Linked DNA regions of Homo sapiens: region 1 is linked to region 2. The links are contacts of gene promoters, found by promoter capture Hi-C in blood cells and fetal thymus (Javierre and others, 2016). All regions are on one chromosome and are shown on one strand. The core of a region is centred on a gene start or on the middle of the fragment in contact, and the rest is flanking DNA. Distances in the headings are between cores, read along the strand shown.

What was found. Contacts are between HindIII fragments. The CHiCAGO score rates a contact against its expected background, and 5 or more counts as called.
Region 1: a fragment that was not itself captured here is called in contact with the fragment with the promoter of DHODH in region 2 in 1 of 17 cell types (non-activated CD4 T cells); the score reaches 5.9 in non-activated CD4 T cells.

What each region holds. Positions count from the first base shown.
Region 1 is chr16:71,553,460-71,558,286 of GRCh38, forward strand. No RefSeq gene overlaps it. Among named protein-coding and RNA genes, the nearest start is that of TAT-AS1, 9.1 kb to the right of the region's middle. The HindIII fragment of the contact is 1,446 bases long and covers 1,564-3,009 here.
Region 2 is chr16:72,005,172-72,010,046 of GRCh38, forward strand. It overlaps DHODH (dihydroorotate dehydrogenase (quinone)), which reads left to right and starts at 3,573. Exons shown (of 9, transcript NM_001361.5): 1 at 3,573-3,614. The coding sequence starts at 3,594. It also overlaps the pseudogene ATP5F1AP3. RefSeq lists silencers at 3,325-3,424, 3,368-3,567. The HindIII fragment of the contact is 5,632 bases long and covers 1-4,875 here.

The sequences.
Region 1 (4,827 bases), core at 1,037-3,536, 450 kb before region 2:
AAAATTATGGTATAACCATACTATAGAATATTGTGCAGCTGGACAGACAGAGAAATTTCTCTGTGTGTAAATACGGAAAACTCCCCAATTCCCCAATATATTTTGTTAAAGACGAAAAGGCAAGCTGGGCATGGTGGCTCACACCTGTAATCCCAGCTCTTTGGGAAGCCTAGGCAGGAGGATTGCTTGAGGCCAGGAGTTTGTGAGTAGCTGGGGCAACATAGCAAGACCCCATTTCTATTAAAAAATTTAAAAACAACAAGGCCAGGTGCAGTGGCTCATGCCTGTAATCCCAGCACTTTGGGAGGCTGAGGCAGGTGGATCACGAGGTCAAGAGATTGAGAACATCCTGGCTGACACGGTGAAACCCCGTCTCTACTAACAATACAAAAAATTAACCGGGCGTGGTGGTGGGCACCTGTAGTCCCAGCTACTTGGGAGCCTGAGGCAGGAGGATGGCATGAACCCAGGAGGGGGAGCTTGCAGTGAGCCGAAATCATGCCACTGCAATCCAGCCCGGGCGACAGAGCGAGACTCCATCAAAAAAAAAAAAAATGCAAAAACATTAGCTAAACGTGGTGGCACATGCCTGTAGTCTCAGATACTTGGGAGGCTGAGGCAGGAGAGTCACTTGACCCAGGAGTTCAAGGCTGCAGTGAGCTATGATCACACCATTGCACGTCAACCTGGGCAACAGAGCAAGGCAAAGAAGAAGGAGGAGGAGGAAGAGGAGGAGGAGGAGAAGGAGGAAAAGAAAGAGGAAGAGGAAGGAGAAGGAAAAGAAGAAATAAAAGGAAAGTATAAAATTGTGATTACACACTATGTTTTGTTTTAAGGGAAAATAAAACTATACTCAAAGTTGCTTATATACTTGTAGAGAAACTCTCAAGAATACATGAGAAACTAAAAATAGTGAGCCCTATAGGGGATAAGGCAGGTAGGACCAGGGAGATGAGAAGCAAAAATGAAAGGACATTTCCTAGGCCAGGTGTGGTGGCACACACCTGTAATCCCAGCACTTTGGGAGGCTGAGGCGGGAGGATAACTTGAGGTCAGGAGTTCGAGACCAGCCTGGGTGACAGGGTGACACCCTGTCTGAAAAAAAAAAAAAAAAGAAGAAGAAATTAAATTTTGTATTGCTGGTTTTAAATAATATTTTCTCAGCCGGGCGGGTGGCTCACACCTGTAATCCCAGCACTTTAGGAGGCCGAGGTGGGCAGATCACCTGAGGTCCAGAGTTTGAGACCAGCCCGACCAACATGGTGAAACCCCCTCTCTACTAAAAATACGAAATTAGCCAGGCGTGGTGACACATGCCTGTAATCCCAGCTACTCGGGAGGCTGAGGCAGAAGAATCACTTGAACCCGGGAGGCGGAGGTTGCGGGGAGCCGAGATTGCGCCATTGCACTCCAGCCTGGGAAACAAGAGCGAAACTCCATCTCAAAAAAATAAATAAATAAAATAACATTTTCTCTTATTGCTGATGAAAATTAAAATTTTAAAATGGTATCTCATTGTATTTGTTAAAGTAATGGTAATTGTTACAACAAACAGATACCAAAAGCTTGATGGCTCAAACACAATTGAAGTGTTTTCTTGCTCAAATGAAGACCAACATGGTCAGTAAATAGCTCTTCTCGGAGCAGTAATTGAAGCACCCGGCTCCTCTCATTCTATGGGCCTGCCATCTTCAACTCAAGGAAGCACTGGTCCAGTGTTTGTAAAGGGATTGCCAAAACAGTGCTGAGGCCCTAGCGAGGCCAGAGACCGTGTACCAGTGGCACCCATTTACCTTTATTTTTACTTTAAGTATAGAAATTGAGAAGGTTCAGGATCAGATTAATCCCAGGTAGAGGCTGTGCACAGTAGATGCTGTGGAATAAGGAAGCTAAGAAGTTGAGGTCGCTGGCAGGAATGTGGGCAGAGTACAGCACCATGAGGCAAAAAAGAAGTGTAACAATGCAAGGGAGTTAATGGACTTGGGAAATGTTTGAAGAGATTAAAGGGCTGTAAAATGTCCAGGTGTCAGATTGTGAGCCAGTTGGAGGGTGAGCAGCTTGCAGTTAGTAAATTACATGTTAGGGATTAATAATCCTAAAATAGTCTAGTTCAAGTGATGACAAGGAACACAGGTGTGGCTTTGGGAGTGGGGCCATTGTGGGGTAGATTGTACAGCTCCTCATGTTTGGAATAAGCAAGAGGCCTTGAGGTTAGAGTGTGGGTGAGGCTATCCACAGAGATGTTGAAATTTCCCAAGTGTTGAAATTTCCCATGTATCAGGCCCTAAATAAATAAGGGAGTGTGCACAGAAAGGATATAAAGTAATTCAGCACATGTTTTAAAGGAAGCTGGTTATTGTGTGAGTCTGGGGGAGTATAGATATGAAAAAAGACAATAAGTTAGAGTCTGGGCTATGTGGGAAAAAAAGCTATTTCAAACAGTGAGTTGGCCGGGTGCAGTGACTCACGCCTGTAATCCCAGCACTTTGGGAGGCCAAGGCAGGCAGATCATGAGGTCAGGAGATCGAGACCATCCTGGCCAACATGGTGAAACCCTGTCTCTACTAAAAATACAAAAATTAGCTGGGTGTGGTGGCACGCACCTGTAATCCCAGCTGCTCGGGAGGCTGACGCAGGAGAATTGCTTGAACCTGGGAAGCAGAGGTTGCCCTGAGCTGAGATGGTGCCATTGCACTCCAGCCTGGCAAGAGAGCGAGACTCTGTCTCAAAAAAAAAAGAACAAACAGTGACTTTAGGGGAAGAGCGAAGTTACAGTTAAGGCAAAGAAGTAACCAGTTTGATGATGGCAGATAATTGTACCTGCTATGGAACAAAGATTTTGGGCAGGGGGAGAACGGAAGGAGGAAACATCAGGATGGAGAGATGTAAGAGAAGTATGGAGACTTCCAAAGCAACATCACAAGAAAGATCATATGAAAATGTTTGGGCTTCAAAACATCTAGATATGATGGATAAAATCTAACAAACGTATTTTCAAATTCAGAGCCAAGCTTGCAAGAGAGTAACAGAATCCCCAAAGAAGCAAAAACAAAGAGGGGCCTGAAAATTTGGAAAATAAGAGTATGCTTATGCTGGTAACATCTCAGTAATCATGGGTTTAGAGTTTAACACTAGTGGAGGAGGACTTAGACCCATGTAAGGCAGGGATTTAAAATTTAGACCTCTCCACAAAGCCAAGCCCTTCCAAATGTTAAGGCTGAGTAACAAGATGGATTATAAAGAAATCTTTCTTATTCTGGCCCCTGGGAAGAAAAAAGAAAACTCTCCCATGACAGTTTGTAAGCATAGGCATTCCTTTACATGGGTTTAGTGTTCAAATGTAACCTACCTGTATGGTCTGGAAACCCCAAAGTTGAGAAATTCACTGAAAAGTGATCCTGATCCATTCCATCAGCAGTTTGTTGTCGTTGTTTTGTTTTGTTTATTTGTTTGTTTTTTGAGATAAAGTCTTGCTCTCGTCCCCCAGGCTGGAGTGTGATGGTGCGATCTCGGCTCACTGCAACCTCCGCCTCCAAGGTTCAAGCGATTCTCCTGCCTCAGCCTCCCCAGTATCTGGGATTACAGGTGCCTGCCACCACACCTGGCTAATTTTTGTATTTTTAGTAGAGATGGGATTTCACCATGTTGGCCAGGCTGGTCTTGAACTCCTGACCTCAGGTGATCTGCCCCCCTGGCCTCCCAAAGTGCTGGGATTACAGGCGTGAGCCACCACGCCCAGCCCCATCAGCAGTTTTAATACTACAAGGAGAGAAAGTCATTGGGGAACCTCTAGCAACCTGCCATATCAGTCAGTATTTTTGTGGCAAAGAAGTATGATCAATAAAATACTTTCAAAGATAAGGATAACGTTAACATAAAACTGGGGTAAAACATAAAACAGAAATACAAGATGAAGAAAGAAAATCATCCTGGCACTTTGGGAGGCCAAAGCAGAAGGATCATTTGAGCCCAGGAGACCAGCCTGGGCAGCATAGTGAGACCCCATCTCTGCAAAAAATACACAAATTAGGCAGGCATGTTGGCATGTAACTATGGTCCGAGCCACTCAGAAGGCTGAGGTGGAAAGATTACTTGAGTCTAGGAGGTCAAGGCTGCAGCGAGCTATGATTGTAATCATGTCATTGCACTCCAGTCTGGGCAACAGAGCAAGATCCTGTTTCAACAACAAAAAAAAGAAGGTAAATTTCTAGTAAATATCCAATATCATCTCTGTTGAAAAATGCATGCTCTAGTTAAATGAACAAGTTAAATGACACCACAAGGAAGCCAACAAACATATCCAGAATGTAGAACATTTTGTAAGACAGCCATTCCTGCAACAAGTCAATGGTATGAAAAGAAAAAAAAAAAAACAGGAGCCTTCTCTAGAGTAAGAGATATTTAAGCTTAAGACATAAAACTAAAAAGTAATGTTTAAACTTTGTTTGAATCCTGATCCAAATAAACCAACTATAAGAAGACATTTTGGAGGCAACCAAAAATATCTTACTATTTGATGTGATGTGGCACTGTGGTTAAGAAATTATGTGTTTAGAGATGTGTACTGAGGCGTATGGGGAGAACTAACGATGTCCAGGATTTGCTTTACAATCTTTTGGCAAAGAAAACAAGAAAAAGAAGGAAGGAACAAAAATGGCAATATCTTGAGAGTCATTAAATCTGAGTGATGGGTATATTGGTGCTAATTATACTACTGCTTCTACTTTTATATATGTTTGAATTTTCAGTCAAGAATTCTAAATTATTTTAGGGAACACATGAACGAAAAAGTGTAAAAACCACTAGTTTATCACACATGCTAATTCT
Region 2 (4,875 bases), core at 2,323-4,822:
TTCTCAAACTTTGTAATCTTGCTGGGCTCCAGTTTATCAAGATACCCCCTTACACCCGCACAGATAACAGCCACTTGTTGTTCAGTAACCATGGGAGGATACTGTCCTTGCTTCAGCAACTCAGTTAGACGCACACCGCGACTCAATAGTTGTTGAGTGGGAGCATTGAGGTCAGAACCAAACTGGGCAAAAGCAGCAACCTCACGATCCTGAGCCAATTCCAGCTTCATGGTACCTGCCGCCTGCTTCATAGTCCTGGTTTGGGCAGCAGATCCAACACAAGACACAGACAGACCCAATGTTAATGGCAGAGCGGATATCTTTGTAGAACAATTCTGTTTCCAAGATCTGTCTGTCAGTGATGGAAATGACATTTGTTGGAATGTAAGCAGACACATCATCGGCCTGTGTTTCTATGACTAGCAAAGCAGTCAAGGAGCCACCACCAAAAGCATCATTCATTTTGGCTGCTCTCTCCAGCAACCGGGAGTATAGGTAAAACACATCACCAGGACAGGCCTTACGACCAGGGGGGTCGGTGGAGCAACAGAGACATCTGACAGTAAGCGACAGCCTGTTTGGATAAGTCGTCATAGATGATCAAAGTATATTTGCCATCGTCTCTAAAATACTCTCCCATGGAACAGTCAGAGTAAGGAGCCAGGTACTGAAGTAGGGCAGCATCTGAGGCCATAGCTGACACCACAGTGGTGTACTTCACGGCATCTGCATCTGTAAGTCTCTTCACCAACTGAGCAACAGTGGATCTCTTTCGACCAATAGCAACATAGATACAGTACAGCTTCTTCTTTTCTTCAGATCTATCATTGAAATGTTTCTGGTTAATGATTGTGTCAATAGCAATTGAGGTTTTCCCAGTCCTTCGGTCACCAATAATGAGCTCATGCTGACCACGACCAATTGGCACCAAGCTATCCACAGCCTTAATGCCAGTCGGCATTGGTTCCCACACTGAAGTTCGAGGAATGATTCTGGGGGCTTTCAGACCGACTCACTTATGGGTCTTGGAACCCATTGGACCCTTTCCATCAATAGCATTACCAAGGGCATCAACTACACGACCCAACAGCTCCTCACCGACTGGAACGTCCACAATGGTTCCTGTCCTCTTCACTATACCTCCTTCCTTACTTTATTATTTTCAAACACTACAATGCCAACATTGTCAGTTTCGAAGTTCAAGGACATATCCTTTAAGCCTGAAGAAAACTCTACCATTTCTTCTGCTTGGAACATTCCTCAGCCCATGTACATGGACAATACCATCACCAATACTTAAGACATGCCCAGTTTCTTCAAGGTCAGCAGAGGTATCAGCTCCAAGAACATGCTCTTTAAGAATAGAGGACATCTCAGCAGTCCCAGTCTTCTGAAGATGAGTGTTAGAGGCATGGAGGTTCCTTGCAGCAATGAAAGATGAACCCAAAGCATTTCTGGAGACCAGTCCTGCCCACCGAGTGAGGTCACGGGCTACGGCCGCGGAGACACACACAGACAGCATCTTTGCAGTTTCTCCACAGGTGGTACCTCCACAGCCGCAGCCTCTGGACTGACTGGGACCGTTTCAAGCATTTTTAAATGAAACCTGATGTTGATGAAATCTCTGAAAGTCAAGTCAGGTATCTTACACAATGCTGTAATTTCATTTCAATCCTTTTCATAAAGGGTAAAGTCCTTGTATATATTCTTTCAATACATGCTTTATCTAAGACACAAGCACTCTATCAATAAAAGTTTTAATTTAAACGACCAAAAAATTGGTGAGAGAGTGCTCAGAACTGAGGATAAACATGTAAGTAGTTTTTTGTCCCAGATGAGCAATGATTTATGTTGACTAAGGTGTGCTGAATTAACTTATTCCATTAAAGTGTAAAGGGAAGACAGGTTGATAAGCATAACTTTTACCTTGATAAATGTTTTCAATGATTTCTATTGCATGTAGACTGAAACACCTAGCATGTAAATTATTGCAGTAGAATCTGTCTCTAAGTCTCAGCTGGGTCTGTGAATTTGTTCTAATTTGATAGCTTCATACAACTGATGAAGCTCAAAAATGGCTTGACTCAAGATATTTCATACACCTTTCTTTTGCTCTAATTTCTGCTACGACAATAACCCAGCTATTTCAGCTGATGGCGGGAACACTGCAACTGGACAAAAATGACACGGATGGGTGTAGAGCCTCCAAACAATAAGTATCTGATTAATGCTGTTGACACCTAAGTCTACAGAGGCTATTCTCCAACGGCCAGGACATCATTAGGTAAGACATTTCAAAATTCTTCGTGAGGGCACGATTGCTTCAGAGGACTACAAAGTGACACATTAGGTCGTCATAAATCACCGCAGTACCATCCTGGCTAACACGGTGAAACCCCGTCTCTAAAATACAAAACAATGAGCCGGGCATGGTTGCGGGCGCCTGTAGTCCCAGCTACTCGGGAGGCTGACGCAGGAGAATGGCGTGAACCCGGGAGGCGGAGCTTGTAGTGAGCCGAGATCGCGCCACTGCACTGCAGCCTGGGCAACAGAGCAAGACTCTGTCAAAAAAAAAAAAAAAAAAAAAAAAAAATCACCGCAGTAAACCACACTCCAACGGGCCTGCACACTCAGGGTCTTGATTAGAAACAGTATTTAAAAAAATACCTCCACATCTGTTGCACCACAATGCCAAGGTATAACCAGGGCCACTTTCTCCAGGAGGCACAACAGGCGCAGGGCCAGGGAAGGGCCTCTGACACTTTTAGGATCTCAAGAAATTTTTTTTTTTTGGTTATTTTTCTTTGTTTGTTTTTGAGACAGAGTCTTGCTTTGTCGCCCAGGCTGGAGTGCAGTGGTGCTATCTCGGCTCACTGCAACCTCCACCTTCTGGGTTCAAGCGATTCTCCTGCCTCAGCCTCCCGAGTACCTGGGATTACAGGCGCCTGCCACTACGCCCGGCTAATTTTTGTATTTTATTTTATTTTTTAGTAGACACGGGGTTTTGGGTGTTGACCAGGTCTCGAACTCCTGACCTCAAGTGATCTGCCTGCCTCAGCCTCCCAAAGTGCTGGGACTACAGGCGTGAGCCACCATGCCCGGCCTCAAGAAAATGTTTTAATTTCCTTAAAAAACCTTAAGAAAAATCAACTTTTAAGTTGAAAAAGTTTATATATTAACATATTCATCTTTATATCAACACAGCAGTAAAATTTATTTTTTAAAGTGATAAAAACTGTACAAATATTTCTGGTGTGAAACACAGTGTTTTGATGCTCGCGGACTCTTGGATTCGAGGCTGCGGTAGTACGGACAAACACCGTGCAGCGGCATCTCATCTCCGCCAACAGCCGGCGATCAAGCGGGCAGGCTGGGAGAGGGCGGGCGGAAGAGGCGTGGCCGCCGCTACTGCGCACGTGCACCCAACCAGAACCTGGGGGTGGTGCCGGGCCTTCCCCGCTGCGCGGAGGCGTCCTCTCAACCCTTCTGCCCGGCGACTGGTGGGTTGGCGGCTAAGGGGCGGAGACAAGAGGGGCCGCCACCATCTCCTCCAATGGAAGGGAGACAGGGGCGGGCTTAATGACGGAAGGAGCATGGCGTGGAGACACCTGAAAGTGAGTCCCGCGAGTGAGCAGTGTGGATGGGGGACCAGGGACCGGGGAGGGCGAGAACGGAGAGTCAGGCCGGGCGAGGCATGGACCGAAGGCGGCTCCGGGAGTGTGGGCCCCCCTGGGACGTGTGCGTGTTTCCGGGGTCTCCTGCAAATGCTCGTGCGTGTGCATTTGCACGTGGACTCGGTCAGGCGTGTGCAGACAGCGCCTGCAGGTCTGGGTGGGTGCTGATCTGAGTGTCTGCGCCTGGGCCATGTTTTTGAGCCTGGCACAGGGGTGCTTAGTGAACACATGACCGCCTAGCGTTGTGTGCCGGATCCAACGGGGAATGAAACTAGAGTAGGACATGCTCCCAACCCTTTTAGGTAAAGTTTTGTTAGGGGCGGGGGTCTCTGTGAAAAGTTCTTAGCTGTATCCCCGTATGTAATAGGTGTTCAGAGGCCGGGCGCGGTGGCTCACGCCTGTAATCCCAGCACTTTGGGAGGCCGAGGCGGGTGGATCATGAGGTCAGGAGATCGAGACCATCCTGGCTAACAAGGTGAAACCCCGTCTCTACTAAAAATACAAAAAATTAGCCGGGCGCGGTGGCGGGCGCCTGTAGTCCCAGCTACTCGGGAGGCTGAGGCAGGAGAATGGCGTGAACCCGGGAAGCGGAGCTTGCAGTGAGCCGAGATTGCGCCACTGCAGTCCGCAGTCCGGCCTGGGCGACAGAGCGAGACTCCGTCTCAAAAAAAAAAAAAAAAAAAAAAAAAATAGGTGTTCAGATATTTGTTGATTGACATGGTGGGGGGGAGTACAGTCTCCAAGGGAGGCAATGAATAACCTTGACTTTCTTTTTATATGTTTATTTGAGACGGAGTCTTGGGCTGTCGCCCAGGCTGGAGTGCAGTGGCGCGATCTTGGCTCACTGCAACCTCCGCCTCCCGGGTTCAACCGATTTTCCTGCCTCGGCCTCCTGCGTAGCTGAGATTACAGGCGCGCGCCACCACGACTGGCTAATTTTGGTATTTTTAGTAGAGACTGCAGTTTCACCATGTTGGTCAGGCTGGTCTCGAACTCCTCACCTCGTGAGCCTCCCAAAGTGCTGGGATTACTGGCGTGAGCCACCGCGCTCGGCCTGAGTCTCTTTTTAAAATAAATAAATGGAGAGAGATGGGATCTCACTGTGTTGCCCAGGCTGGTCTAGAACTATTGGCCTCAAGGGATCTTCCCGCCTCAGCCTCCCAAAGTGGTGGGATTACAGGCGTGGGCTACCGCGCCCAGC